Linked DNA regions of Homo sapiens: region 1 is linked to region 2. Evidence: promoter capture Hi-C in 16 types of primary human blood cells and fetal thymus (Javierre and others, 2016). All regions are on one chromosome and are shown on one strand. Each heading gives the region's core, a stretch centred on a gene start or on the middle of the fragment in contact. The rest is flanking DNA. Distances are from core to core; before and after follow the strand shown. Region 1 holds the start of AKNA (AT-hook transcription factor). Region 2 holds the start of ATP6V1G1 (ATPase H+ transporting V1 subunit G1).

Evidence for each region. The method cuts DNA at HindIII sites, captures the fragments that hold promoters and counts their contacts. A CHiCAGO score of 5 or more calls a contact.
Region 1: a fragment that was not itself captured here is called in contact with the fragment with the promoter of ATP6V1G1 in region 2 in 6 of 17 cell types (fetal thymus, naive CD4 T cells, total B cells and 3 more); the score reaches 11.6 in fetal thymus.

Annotation. Positions count from the first base shown.
Region 1 is chr9:114,382,884-114,390,251 of GRCh38, forward strand. It overlaps AKNA (AT-hook transcription factor), which reads right to left and starts at 5,099. Exons shown (of 22, transcript NM_001317950.2): 1 at 4,977-5,099. LOC124902253 (a long non-coding RNA gene) reads left to right here and starts at 5,167. Exons shown (of 3, transcript XR_007061742.1): 1 at 5,167-5,370; 2 at 5,562-5,706. RefSeq lists enhancers at 1-639, 2,672-2,741, 2,762-2,811, 2,932-2,991, 3,762-3,911 and 3 more. The HindIII fragment of the contact is 708 bases long and covers 1,154-1,861 here.
Region 2 is chr9:114,584,303-114,590,982 of GRCh38, forward strand. It overlaps ATP6V1G1 (ATPase H+ transporting V1 subunit G1), which reads left to right and starts at 3,467. Exons shown (of 3, transcript NM_004888.4): 1 at 3,467-3,618. The coding sequence starts at 3,537. RefSeq lists enhancers at 1,926-2,745, 2,746-3,564, 3,203-3,282, 3,393-3,902. The HindIII fragment of the contact is 7,256 bases long and covers 1-3,754 here.

The sequences.
Region 1 (7,368 bases), core at 258-2,757, 200 kb before region 2:
AATGTTTTGCAACTAGATGGAGGTGGCAGTTACACAACACTGTGAATATACTAAATGTCACTGAACTGTTTACCTAAAAATGGTTAGTTTTATGTTATGTGAATTTCACCTCAATTTAAAGAAAACGCCTTCCGAGTGAGGAGTGAGGCGAGCTGGGGGCGGGGAGCAAGCCTACCAGGGGCTTTCCTGGACCTGGGAGTGGTTTCGCCGCCGATGGCTGGGGTATTGAACACAGGGAAAGCCCATCAGAGGTGTGGTTTAAAAGTTCCCCTTGGGCTGCTCTGGGAGAATGAACCAGGGAGGCTGGCCACACGGGGGACCCGTCAGGCGGCTGCTGCAGGAACAGGGTAGCCAGAGAAGGGCTCCTCCGCTGCCTTCCCTCAACCCTCTCCTTCTTTCCCTCTTTCCTTCTCCCTCTCATCTCCTTTTGCCTCTTCCTTCTGACGCTCCTGCTATTTCCCTAAGCGCTTCCTCTATGCCAGCACTGAGCCAGGCCCAGGAAGTGCAAAGCTGACCCAGAGTGGGCACGGTCCCCCAGGGAGCTCCCTGCCATGGAGGGTTCAGAGAACTGCAGCCCATCAGTGCAGCGGCCCCCAGAGCAGCTCACACAAAGGCCTTCTTCCACAGATGGGGAAACTGGGATCCAGAGAGGGGAGAGGCCTTGCCTAAAGCCACACAGGGGTCAGGACAAGGCAGGGGTGAAAGTCAGCCTCCTGGCCCACAGTCTGGGCTTTCTCCCCTGCATGCTGTGTTGAAGGCAGTATGACTCCAGGCCTCCCAGGACAGAAGGTCTGTGTTTGTCCCTTTATCCTCATGAACACTTGGATCCTGCTTGATTTGTGTGGCTGAGAAAAGTCAGCAGGCAACTATTTTTGGACACAAAGTTCCCCAGGGAACAGTGCAGCCCGGGAAAGGCTGACTTCTCAAGGGCTGGAGGAGGGAGGTGCAGGGAATACCATTCTTCCCTCCTTGGCTGCGACTCCTGCTCTGTGGATGGGTGTTCGGGGCTTCTATCCTCTGTCCCCGCCCAGTCTTCCTCTCTACCCCCAAATGCAGAGCCCTACAATTTCCTCCAGATCACCCTGTGTATTGTCCTCCAGCCCCACAGTCCCTACCACATGTGAAGAGCCCACTCGGCGCCAGCCTGGGTTGAAGCTTTACTTTTAAATTCTCAATCTGCCCTCCTACAAACATGAGGGTAGAATTTGGCTAAGATCACCCAGCTACTTCCTGCCACAGCAAGATTTGCAACTGTCAATTCTGGCCTAGTGGTACCCCAATATTTTTTTAATCACACAATCCATCAGTAAAAATATATTTGCTCGAACACATCACGCTAATATATTACATGTATTGGAAAGAGTATTTTCAAAAGTGATCTTCTAAAAAGATGCAATCGAAAATGGGCCAGGTACAGCGGCTCACACCTGCAATCCCAGCACTTTGGGAGGCCGAGGTGGGCAGATCACTTGAGCTCAGGAGTTTGAGACCAGCTTGGGCAACGTGGCAAAAGCCTGTCTCTACTAAAAATAAAAAGGAAAAAGAAAATATATACAGGTGACCCTTAATGACAGTTTGAACCACACAGGTCTACCTATATGTGAATTTTCTTCTGCCTCTGCCACCCCTAAGACAGTAGATCAATCTCCCCCTTAACTCCTCCTCCTCAATGTGAAGATGACAAGGATGTAGGCCTTTATGATGATCCACTTCCACTTAATGAAAGTAAGTAGATTTTCTCTTCCTTATGATTTCCTTAATAACATTTTCTTTTCTCTGGCTTACTTTATTGTAAGAAAACAGTACATAATACATATAAGACAGAAAATATGCATTAACCAACTGTTTATGTTATCAGCAAAGCTTCCAGTCAATAGCAGGCTATTGATAAAGTTTTGGGGGAGTTAAAAGTTATAAGCAGATTTTTGACTGCATGAGGCACTCCTAACCCCTGTATTATTCAAGGATCAACTGTATTTTATTTTATTGAGACAGGGTCTCACTGTTACCCAGGCTGGAGTACAATGGCAATCAGAGCTCACTGTAGCCTTGACCACCTGGGCTCAAGCGATCCTCCCACCTCGGCCTCCTGAGTAGCTAAGACCACAGGTATGCGCCACCATGCCTGGCTAATTTTAAAAATTTTTTTTTGTCGAGATGGGGTTTTGCCACGTTGCCCAGGCTGGTTTTGAACTCCTTGTTTCAAATGATCCTCCTGCCTCGGCCTCCCTATGTGCTGGGATTACAAGCATGAGCCACCCACCCAGCTGGTCAACTATATTTTAAATAGAAGCTCTAATCCTTGCTTCTCATACCTTCTGCAGGGCCTGTACCCTTCTTGGAAATCCCTGCCAGGGATCTTAAGCTTCAGTGTGCTTAAGAATCCTCTAAGCGTGCAGTTTCCTGAAACAACCTGCAGAGAGCCTGACTCAGTGGCCCTGGGATAGGGCCCAGGAATCTGCATTTTAAACCAGGGCCTCAGGCAGGGCCTGCCCTTTGAAGTTCACTAGGCCTCCTGGCTCCTGCTGTTATGGCAGGTGGAGAAGAGGCTACAATTTAGCTGTTGCTTTTCTGATTCTGAAGCCTCTGCTGAGGAAGGGGCCGGGGGAGGTGTGCGGTTTTTTGACTTTTTAAAGGGCTTTTTTTCTAGCTCTGCCACAGAGCAGCCTGCCCAATCACAGAGCCCTCTGGGTGCACAAAGAGGAACATCCTGTCTTCTGGGATGACTCAGTCGTGGCAGAAATCTCACTGTAACCAGGGGAAGGTGCACGTCAGAGGCAGCTGCAGTGACTGACTAGAGTTTCGCACTTGCCCCCAGGCGCCTAAACCAGTGAGCCTTTCCTGAGCCAGGCCTCTGCCTTCCATGCGAGCCATGGCCCTCCTCACCACAAAGCCCCAGAACTGGCCAGTCAGCTAGTCAGTCAACAAACACACGTTAGTGCCAACTACCTGCCAACCTCAGGCTGGGACGATGCTGTGATAGAGAAGCAGGCTGGGCATCAGGAGACAGGTGCTAGTCCTGGCTGCTGTTACTCACTGTGTATAGCTGGGCTTGCATTTTCCTCACTGTAAAATAGAGAAAGTACCACCTGCTCTTGATATCGCAAGGGGATATCACCCTGCTAGGGTGGGTTGGGAGGCAGGGTATGGGACTCAAAGAGCTTTGAAGTCCCTGATTGACTCAGCTTCTAAGGGCAACAGCCTCAGAACTGTTAACCTCTCTCCTCCTCCCTGAGGTCACATTTCAAAGTACAAAGATACATACTGAGCACCCAGTGGGCGCAAATTAACTTTTTAAAAAAGCCCTATGACTTCCTACTATATACCAGGCGCTACGTAAGATGCAAAGAATATAGAAAAGAGTAAAAGTGTTCCAAGATTTTAAACGGTGGGGGGTAGTACAATACAGAAGTGTTACCAAAGGAAGCTTTAAGGTGGGCTTGAGAAACAATGAGGATTTGGGGGAGAAGACTGGGGAGGGCATTCCAGGCAGCGGGAACAGCACGGAGGCAAAGGCACGTAGGTCTGAAAGTATGGCCTGACCTTGAAGGAGAGCTATGGGCAGGTGTCCCTGCATGCCAGATAAAGGCAGAGTTGTTCCAGCCAGCCCTCGTTAGGGCAGCAGGGCTGCTCCTAAAAGGCAGTGAGTGGGGTTTGGTGAAGACTCCAGCAGTGTGAGCTGGGGAGGGCTATGGAGTTCAGGGTCCCCGCCATCCCTGGAGAAACTGGCCCCACAAGGAAGTAGCAGCCACTGCACCCTCCTTCTGCACATCTCCTTCTTACACCCAAGCCGCCACTGCCCCTGCTCTCTCAAGGGTCTAACAGACCCCTGAGGTGTCTATCTTCAGTTCCTGGGTGGGATGGACTCTTCTTCCCCACCACCCACACAGGGCTTCTCCGCCCGCTCAGTCATTCCACAGCCAGGGACCCTTCCCTTTATGGCTCAATCCCTCAGAACTGCCCAGACGCCCAGGCTCTCCTTTGCCAGCACAGCTACGCAGCCCGCACAGCCTCCCCGTGCCCTCTGCAGCCCCTTCCCATCCAGCCAGAGCTGTCCAGGGTGCCACCCTGCTTCTACCCCCACCCACACCCTGACACCTCCCAGATGAAGACACTGAGGCACAGAGACATGGCCTGCTCTCACAAGACCTCACAGCCAGGAAGCGCAGACAGAGGATTCAAAGCTGGGGTACCGCAACTCTGAAACCAAGGCTGTCAGATGTGTCAGGGAGATGGGGAAGGAAGACCACCCCCCAAATCAGTAACCAGACCTTCCAAAAAGGCTCAACCATACCCCCACCCACCTGCTGGCAGGGCACAGACTTGCTGTTCTCAAGGGGTTCCCACCAGCTGTGTGGACTCTAGTCCCACAAGGAAGCACCAGCCACTCCCTCTCTGTGTCCTCCCTGCCCCCAGCCCGCTCCAGCAGCAGAGGCCGAGGAGAAAGAGAAACGGTGCCCTGGCTGTTGCCAGCTCTGGTCTTGCCATCCTCAAGAGCTGAGCTGGGTCTGCTGGTCCTCGGACTGTCCTTGGCTCCTCTCCTTGCTCTTACGCAGCTGGCATAAGGGGCCACTCCTTCAATAGGGACCACCCCCCGGCGCCGTCGCTGCCTCCTGGCCTGCTGCCCATGCCTGCATCGTCTCTGAGACCCCTTAGCAACCAAGGACACTAACTCTCCAGGTGCAGACGACGACACCCCAGGCACAGAGATGGACCCGCCTACCCAAGTTCACAAGAGATCAGAATCAGAGCTAGGACTGGAATCTAGCATCCTGAGGCTTGACGAAATCCTCCTTAAATCCACCCTTGCCCTGGAGGCCGGGATCCCCTAAGCCAAGAGAAAAGCGGTGCAGCTCCAGCAGCTGCAACTTCCTGGCTGGGCTGGTCCGGCTGCCTGGACTGTCCCGGAGAGTCTGTGACTGGCCCGTCCAGAAGGAAAGCGGCCTCCCGGGCCCTCCTCCGTTCCAATCCCTTACCTCTCTCGGGCTCCACCACCGTCCTGCCGACCCAGTTTCAGGGGACCTGCCTGTGAATTCTTTGTTCCAAACCCAGGGAGCCCCCTGTCTCCATTGCGCCCTGGCCCACCTCCAGGCCGTTCTGCCAGCCCAAGCTGCTGCTCACAGACCAGCATCGCTCCCCACCTCTCCCCGCCCCTGCCGTGGTTGAGGCCGCCTCGCCTCGGCAGGAAGCGCCCAGCCTGATTTCCTACAAGTGTTTGTCAGAAGGAGGGGGTTTGTCTGCGTGCAGAGCAAGAGCTGGAGGAGCTTAACCCCTTGCAAGCCCTCCGCAGTCAGCGCTGCCCAGGAAAGGACTCAGGGAACAAACTCCTGACGTCCTGGGCTTGGGATCATCTCAGCCCAGGCCCTGCAGGTACAGATGGGGAGACTAAAGCACAGAGAAGGTCAGAGGCTTGGCCAAGGTCACACAGCATGCTGTAGCTCCTACCCTCTAGGCCCTCTTCAACCACGGCCTGACCTTAGCCGAGGCTCCTTCCCTCACTAGGCCTCAGGGCCCATGTGCACGGTGAGAGCTCAGACTCAACACCACTCCTGCCCTTCCAGCTCTGACTCTGCCAATGTGCAACCTGAATCTCAGGGAGACCGTGGTGATTCCTGCCATCTCAACCCACCGTCCTCACCCCGAGGTGGTCCTGCAGCCAGAGTGGGATGTTCGGGGCAGCATGGAGGTGTGAACCTGGCGGATCAGGTAAACTTTCCCTTGTTGTAAGAACCCTCCAAGGGTTCACCAGATGTTGGGAACAGATCGATCCTGATGGTCAGTCGAGCTATCTTTCCTCAAGCCCCACCATCCCATTCCTTCATTCGTAGGTACTCACTGAGCTCCTACTGTGTGGCGGGTGCTTTTAAATCACCTGGGAATATGGCAGGGCCGAAGACAGGCCAGTCCCCTGCTCTCCACTCTAGCAGAGACATGGACAATAAGCAAGCACATGTATAATTTCAAGGAGAGAGCTGTGAACAATGAGACTGGGTGACGATCCGTGTCCCAGGCCAGGTGGCACTGAAGCCTGGGGCTCACCCCAGGCCAACAGAGTCAGTCTCTGGGCATCAGACATTTTAAGTGTCCCAGGTGACTGGCCCTGGTAGAGAACACATGGGGCCAAGAGTAATGGGTTGGAGGAGAAGGGTTATAGGACGGTCAGGAAGGTCTCTATGAGGAGGTGACATTCAAATAAGGCACTGGAAGGAAGAGGGGTCAAAAGCAAGCCACAAGAAGGTTTGGGGCAGAGTGTTCTGGGAGGGCAAGTGGAAAGGCCAAGGTGGGGGAGCCAGCGGGCTTTCCCTGAGAACAGCAAGGCCTGTGTACCCGGGGCAGAGCGAGTCAAGCGGGAGAAGCAGGAGCTTCACAGAAAAGCGGGCACAGGAGCACAAGAGGCTCCCAACACTGGCCCCACCCAGGACCCAGAGACTCTGAGTCAGGAAACAAAAAGAAAGAGGAAAAAAAACAGGCCTCTGTATTGTCCAAAAAGCCCTCCAGGTAATTCTGATAAGCAGCCAGATTTGGGAACCACCCATGTAGGAGAGAAAAAAATCTCAGAGTCACTGTGGACCTGGGTTCAAATCCCAGCCCCATCTCCTGCTGGCCCTGACCTTTGAGGCTTCACGTCTCTAAGCCTCAGTTTCTTCATCTGTAAAACAGGGATAAGAAGAGTAGCCACCCCACAGGGGCTGCTATAAAGATTCAATGACATGATGCCTACCAAGGGTAGAGCGGGGGAGCCAGAACACAGTCATGTATTGAGCTATTTTATTATTGCTACTACAACTATTGCTGCTACTTAGGTATAAGTCTCTGGTCTCCTCTAAAGGCTAGATCTTAATATCTTTCCTGAAGCCTGGCACACTGTTTATGGCTGATGAATGTGTTCTGTGAATGAATGAATGAATGAATGAGTGGACGTTCCCAAGGTCAGCTTGTGAATATCTGGCGTAGCCAGGGCTAGAACCAGGAGCCCTCATCCTGGTAATCGCCCACCCCTCTATCCCCTTTCCTGCCTTTTACCCACATCTGGGTGGCAGGGCTCTCCCTGTAGCCCCCAGCCCCACATGGAGCAGAGCCAAACCCTAATGAGGCCCCTCCCTATCAGCTCTGGAGGCCATGTGTGCCATTGTGCAAGGGGCGGGCTCCCCTGACACCCTGTCACTCACTCACCCTCCCTCCCTGGTCATTAACCCAGGCAGCATTAACCCAGGTGGCTGCCATTGCTGGGCATAGCCTGTGGCCCCTGGATAACCCCAAACCCATCTCAGGGGCAGCCACCTAACACCAAGGAGAACCGCCTGCAGTGCAGTCTGTTCCATTTCCTTGCACCCCCAAGCATGACCAACCCTCCTCCCTGCCTTTGCT
Region 2 (6,680 bases), core at 2,217-4,716:
CCATGCCCACCTAATTTTGTATTTTTAGTAGAGATGGGGTTTCTCCATGTTGGTCAGGCTGATCTCAAACTCCCGACCTCAGGTGATCCACCCGACTCAGACTCCCAAGGTGCTGGGATTACAGGTGTGAGCCACCGTGCCCGGCCGGGTTTGTTTTTGTTTTTGTTTACTGTATATTCACAAGGGTATGAAACTGTCACCACTAATTCCAGAATGTTTCCATCACCCGAAAAAGAAAACCCATGCCAATTAGCAGTCACTCCCCCATTCCTCTCCCCTCAGCCCCTGGTTAACCACTAATCTATTTTCTGTGTCTATTTGCCTATTCTGGATTGTTCCTATAAACGGAACTGTATAATATGTAGTCTTTTGTGCCTGGCTTTTTTCATTTAGCATATTACCAAGTTTCATCCACGTTGTAGCTTTATTTCCTTTTTATAACCAAATACTATTCTATTGTATGAATATGCTACATTTTATCTACTCATCAGTAGATGGACATTTGGGTTGTTTCCAGTTTTGGGGTACCATCATCTCTTTTAATCTTCATGCCACCTCTAGAAGTGTGTATTGCTGTCTTCCATTGATTGACTGAGTGAACTGTGGTTTCTTTCTTTTGTTCTCCTTTTGTTTATACAGATGGGGCCTCCCTGCATTGCCCATGCTGGAGTGCAGTGGCCATTTACAGGGGCAATCATAGTGCACTACAGCCTCTAATTCCTGGCATCAAGGGATCCTTCTGCTTCAGCCTCCCGAGTAGCTGGGTCTACAGGCATGTGCCACCATGCCCAGCTAATTTTTGTATTGCTAGTAGAGATGGGGTTTCACCATGTTGGCCAGGCTGGTCTGGAACTCCTTACCTTGTGATCCACCCGCCTCAGCCTCCCAAAGTGCTAGGATTACAGGTGTGAGCCACCACGCCCAGCCTTTATTTCTTTATTAAAATGTACTTTAACTGGCTGGTCGGGGTGGCTCACACCTGTAATCCCAGCACTTTGGAAGGCCGAAGCTGGTGGATCACGAGGTCAGGAGTTTAAGACCAGCTTGGCCAAGATGGGGAAACCCCATCTCTACTAAAACTACAAAAAAAATTAGCCAGGCACAGTGGTAGGCACCTGTAATCCCAGGTACTCGAGAGGCTGAGGCAGGAGAATCGCTTGAACCCGGGAGGCGGAGGTTGCAGTGAGCCGAAATCGCGCCACTGCACTCCAGCCTGGGCTACAGAATATCTAAAGAAAAAAAAAAAAAGAAAAAAGAAAAAGAAATAAGGTACATTTGCAGAAGTATAATCACTAACTCTGTCAGATGTTATCTTATGTGTAAAAGAGGCAAGGATTAGTGTAATTTATCCTTTAAGGAATATAGTAACTCAGGCAGGAGACATGTGGGCCCATGTGCTCTATTCTGTTTTATCTTCAAAACTCTTTCCAGTCCTGTTTCTCACATCAGAAAAGGATAGAAATTCTGTTCTTTCCAACCCCACCACGTCAATCAAATGAAAATGTCCTGAGCCATGAATCCAGCTCCTGGAGTGAAGAATCTTTGTATCAAGAAAAATTCTGGCATTATTTTATGTTCTCAGCACTCAGTGGACTCTAAGAGGTCACCTGGTCCTTTCCTCAGCCCAGAGGATTCCGGCAGAAAAGCAGTAGCTCAGAGGTTTTACTCTGCAGCCCTGACTGGATTCAAATACCCTGTCTGTGTGTTAATAGGGGCATGACTTTTGGCTCAGAGACTTTGCGACTCTCTGAGCTTCAGTTTGGTCAATATAAAATGGAATTAGTAACAGTATCAAAGTTAATGTGAGGAGTGAGTGAAGCGATGACAAGGGCCCGTCATACTGTAAACTCAAACCATGGCTTCCTATTTCCCTATTCACGGTGGATGGGGAGATGTCTCCGTGCCAAGTTGACCCCCTCCCCAACTCCGCACACGCTGGTCCTTTTCCCCTAATCATCTCCCACCGCCTCCATCCCCCACTATCCTTTCCTGGGTAACTTCTTATTCTTCAGATCTTATTTTATTTTTTGAGAATTTTTATTATTTATTTACTTATTTATTTTTGAGATGGAGTCTGCTCTGTCACCCAGGCTGGAGTGTAGTGACACGATCTCGGCTCACTGCAACCTCAGCTCCCAGGTTCAGGCGATTCTCCTACCTCAGCCTCCTGAGTAGCTGGGATTACAGGCGCGCGCCACCATGCCCGGATTTTTGTATTTTTAGTAGAGACCAGGTTTCACCACATTGGTCAGGCTGGTCTCAAATTCCTGATCTCGTGATCCGCCGGCCTCAGCCTCCCAAAGTGCTGGGATTATAGGCGTGAGCCACCGCGATTGGCCTATTTTAATTTTTTAATTTTAATTTTTTTGAGACAGTCTTGCTCTGTCGCCCTGGCTGCAGTGCAGCGTCACGATCTCGGCTCACTGCAGCCTCCGCCTCCCGGGTTCAAGCGATTCTCGTGCCTCAGCCTACTGAGTAGCTGCGATTACAGGCGCGCGCCACCACGCCCGGCTAATTTTTGTATTTTTAGTAAAGACGGGGTTTCACCACGTCGGCCAGGCTGGTCTCGAACTCCTCACCTGAAGTGATCCACCCGCCTCGGCCTCTCAAAGTGCTGGGATTACAGGCTCGTGAGCCACTGCGCCTGGCCTTCAGATCTTAAACACCACTTCCTTGGTACAGCATTCAGAGACACCTCCATATTCCTCTCCCCTTACTAAAGGTTCCTTCTTACGGCACCCTGCATTTTTCCTTCATGACTTTATCACAGTTTGTAATTGTCTATTTATTTTAATTAATCTGTCTGTGTCCATAAACTGTGAGCTCCGCCGGGACCTTGTTTGCCCTGCTCTCTGCTATGTCCTCAATATCAACAGTGGACTAGGATCACAGCAGGCTTTCATCAAATATTTATGGGAAACAGTCCAGTCCATTCCTGAACTCGGGTTCAGAAAAGGATAGCGACCTGTCCAAAATCACACAGGTTAGCGGCAGACTTGATCCCGAGTCTCCTAACTGGCAACCCAAGACTCTATCCCCGGAACTGGCAAGAATCTTCCTGAACTACCCCGATAAAATTTTGAGTGCCAAAGAAAGTCCCAGAAAGGGAGTGAGTAGAGCAGTGTGGAGAGTAGGAGGAAAGTGATTTGACTTGGCCCCTCCTCTCTTGACGTTGAGCATACTGCAAACAGACACTATACGTGGCAGGGCGGCTACAGAGTGAACCAGCGACAGGGTAGCCATTAAAAGAGGCCAGGGAGCGGACAGAGGAGTAGAGGGCAGTACTGCGCAGTAGACTGCACAGGCGCAGTCGAGGAGCTCCGCTCCTTTCTCCTCAGCCCCGCCCCGCCCCATTTCTGCCGAATCACAGAAGTTCAAGAGCGGTCAGCTGATGCTACGCTGTGCGGTCACGTGACAACGGGGGCGAAGCGCAGGCGCAAGGAGCAAGCGCAGATTGTGGGCGGCTGTGTCAGCTGACCCAAGGGGCCTTCGAGGTGCCTTAGGCCGCTTGCCTTGCTCTCAGAATCGCTGCCGCCATGGCTAGTCAGTCTCAGGGGATTCAGCAGCTGCTGCAGGCCGAGAAGCGGGCAGCCGAGAAGGTGTCCGAGGCCCGCAAAAGTGAGTTTCAGGGTGGGGCTGCCCGGCGTGGCGCGAGTCGAAGAAAGACCGCTGGGCCTCAGGTGGTGGGTAGATTAGGCCCGAAAAACTGCGGGGTGCGGGCGTGCGTATAGTCGCGGAAGGTTGTGTGTTTCGAAGCTTTGAGGAGCTGAGGCTCTGGAAGGCTTGCGGATCGCCTGGAAGCCACGATGTGAGATGGTAAATTGGGCGTGGAAACAATAATGGGTTACCGTCCTTGGGGCCTGGAGGCATGTGAAATGGGCTCTCCAAACGGAGCTCTTTGTTCTTCTTCTCTCCCACTTAACCGCTCTGGGGTGGTCAGTCTCGGTGAAGGGAGCCAGCATCCACACAGTTGCTTGGTCTAGAAACCTGGAGTCCTGCTTGCCTCTTCTCCCTCCCTCATTTAGTCAGTCGCCAAGGCTTGCGTATCTTTCACTTTTTCCCCCATGTCTACTACCAGCGTCTTAGTCCAGGACACCAGTTTCTCTAAAGGTACTGTAGTTGTCTAAATCGTTGGCGTGTGTGCGTGTGTGTGTTTCTGATATGTGGCAAGCGCAGTGTGTGTGTGTTTCTAACATGTGGCAAGCGCAGTGTGTGTGTGTGTGTGTGTGTGTGTGTGTTTCTGTCTAATATGTGGCAAGCGCAGTGCCCAGTGCATCAGTTGTCTCCCCTAACGTGGCATTCAGTGTCGCAGTGAAGGAAGCAGGTATTGGGTCAGTTAATTAATTGCAGGAGAGATGAGGGCTGGAGTGGAGAAATGTAAGGTTGCTAAAGAATTTAACAGGTGAGTTTAATCTAGACTGGGGAGTGGAAGAACCCGTTCTGGTCCCCTCCAGTCAATCCATTCTCCTCTCTGCAATCAGTCATCCTTCTAAAATGCAAATATGTGACTTCCTGCTGGTAAGGAACAAAATAAATAAATAAGTGCAGATATGATTTCCCTACCGCCTTTGTAGTCAGACGTTTAGTTCCTGCAGAAGAAAGCTCAAATTCCTTAATGAAGTTGGGGAGGCTCTTGTGGGTCAGGCCTGGTGCTTTCCTCCAGCTATACTGAATCGTTGTGGTCCCTCAGAAGCAGCATGATGTCTTTCACCTGCAGGTTTTTGCACACGCTGTTTCTTCTGACGTGAGAAGCCTTTTCCAATTCTCCTCCCCTTTGTTCTCTGACCCTTAGTCTTCCATCAGACCTCAATTTAGGAAACACTTCTTCCCGGGAAGCCTTTCCTGACTCATGCTTGTCCCCCGGACTAGGCTTGGAGTCCCTCCCAAGTGCTGATTTCTGCCACTGCCGTGCAATAACCTGTTTGTTTATATGGCTCAGTCACTAGACTAAGCTTCTGGAGAACAGAAACTATGTCTCATTTAACTTTATGTATCCAGTTTCCCGTCTGGTGAGAAAGATGCTTCTATCCCTATTTTACAGATAGTAAAAATGAGGCTCAGAGAGAAATGATTTATCCATACCCTGGGAAGCAACATAGTTGGGACTCAGAAGCCTCTTTTTCCATGCAAGGCGAAGATACTGATCTTAGTAATTCCTTGGTGTTTCTCCTAGTATAGGAGTTATTCTATCTGACATCCAACTAGATTTCAAGCATGTCTCCTCTACTTGTGCAGTTAGGGGTTGTGTGGTACTTGGAAAGCTTTCTTTGAGGGTGTTGGGAATGAGAAGAAGCCTTTTGTTCTTGCTCCGGTGACTGGAAAGTTCTTTGTTCTTCCCAGAATATTTCCAGTCATGCCCTTGATAGTGTATTTCCAGAATGACTTCTCACAGTTTGTGTTCTGATGGCTCATCAGTAACAGAAGTTGTATCTGTCGGGAGGGATAGGAGAATAGATTGGGGAAGTGCAGGAAAAAATGCTTGGAATAGGTAAGAATAATTCTGAGTGCCCTAGCCAGGTAGGATTTATGTTTTATACCTTTATCCTGTCAAGCCTGGTGCAGGGTTTTGTATATGTCAGGTAGCTGTGAATTGGTTTTAAAAAGTATTAATTTGGCTGGGCGTGGTGGCTCACGCCTGTAATCCCAGCACTTTGGGAGGCTGAGGTGGGTGGATCACCTGAGATCAAGAGTTTGAGACCAGCCTGGGCAATATGGAGAAACTCCGTGTCTACTAAAAATACAAAAGTTAGCTGGGCGTGGTGGTGTGCGCGTGTAGTCCCAGCTACTTGGGAGGCTGAGACAGGAGAAACGCTTGAACCCAGGAGGCAGAGGTTGCAGTGAGCGGAGATCTGTCCCACAGCACTCCAGCCTTGGGGACAGAGGGAGACGCCGTCTCAAAAAAAAAAAAAAACAAAAAACAAACCAAAGTATTAGTTTATGGCTTACATACTTCTCAGATTTTTTTTTTTTTTTTTGAGACAGAGTCTCACTCTGTCACTCAGGCTAGAGTGCAGTGGCACCATCTTGGCTCACTGCATCCTCCACCTCCAGAGTTCGAGATTTTGTGCCTCAGGCTCCCAAGTAGCTGGGATTACAGGTGCCTACCACCATGCCCATCTCTACTAAAAATACAAAAACATATAAATTAATACATAAATAAAAAAATAAATTTTTGTATTTTTAGTAGAGACAGTGTTTTACTATGTCGGCCGGGTTCTTCTCAAACTCTCGGCCTCCCAAAGTGCTGGGATTACAGATATGAGCGACTGCGCCTTGCCTGTCTCAGAATTGTTAATAGTTAGGAACAGAGAGGTAGTCAGAAGAACTGCAGTTTGAAAATTTGCCTTTCTTGATTTATAATTATGGTTGATTTGCCCAGTTAAGAGTTGGGAAGAGGCAGTATATAAAATGATCCCATCCAGTTTTTTTAATGAAATCATTGAGTTGGACCTTAAATTTTTTTTATTATTTTTTATTTTATTTTATATATTTTGTTTATTTATTTTTTTGAGATGGATTCTCGCTCTGTCGCCCCCAGGCAGGAGGGCAGTGGCGTGATCTCGGCTCACTACAATCTCTGCCTCCCAGGTTCAAGCGATTCTTCTGCCTCAGCCGCCCGAGTAGCTGGGACTACAGGTGCCTGCCACCATGCCCGGCTAGTTTTTGTGTTTTTAGTAGAG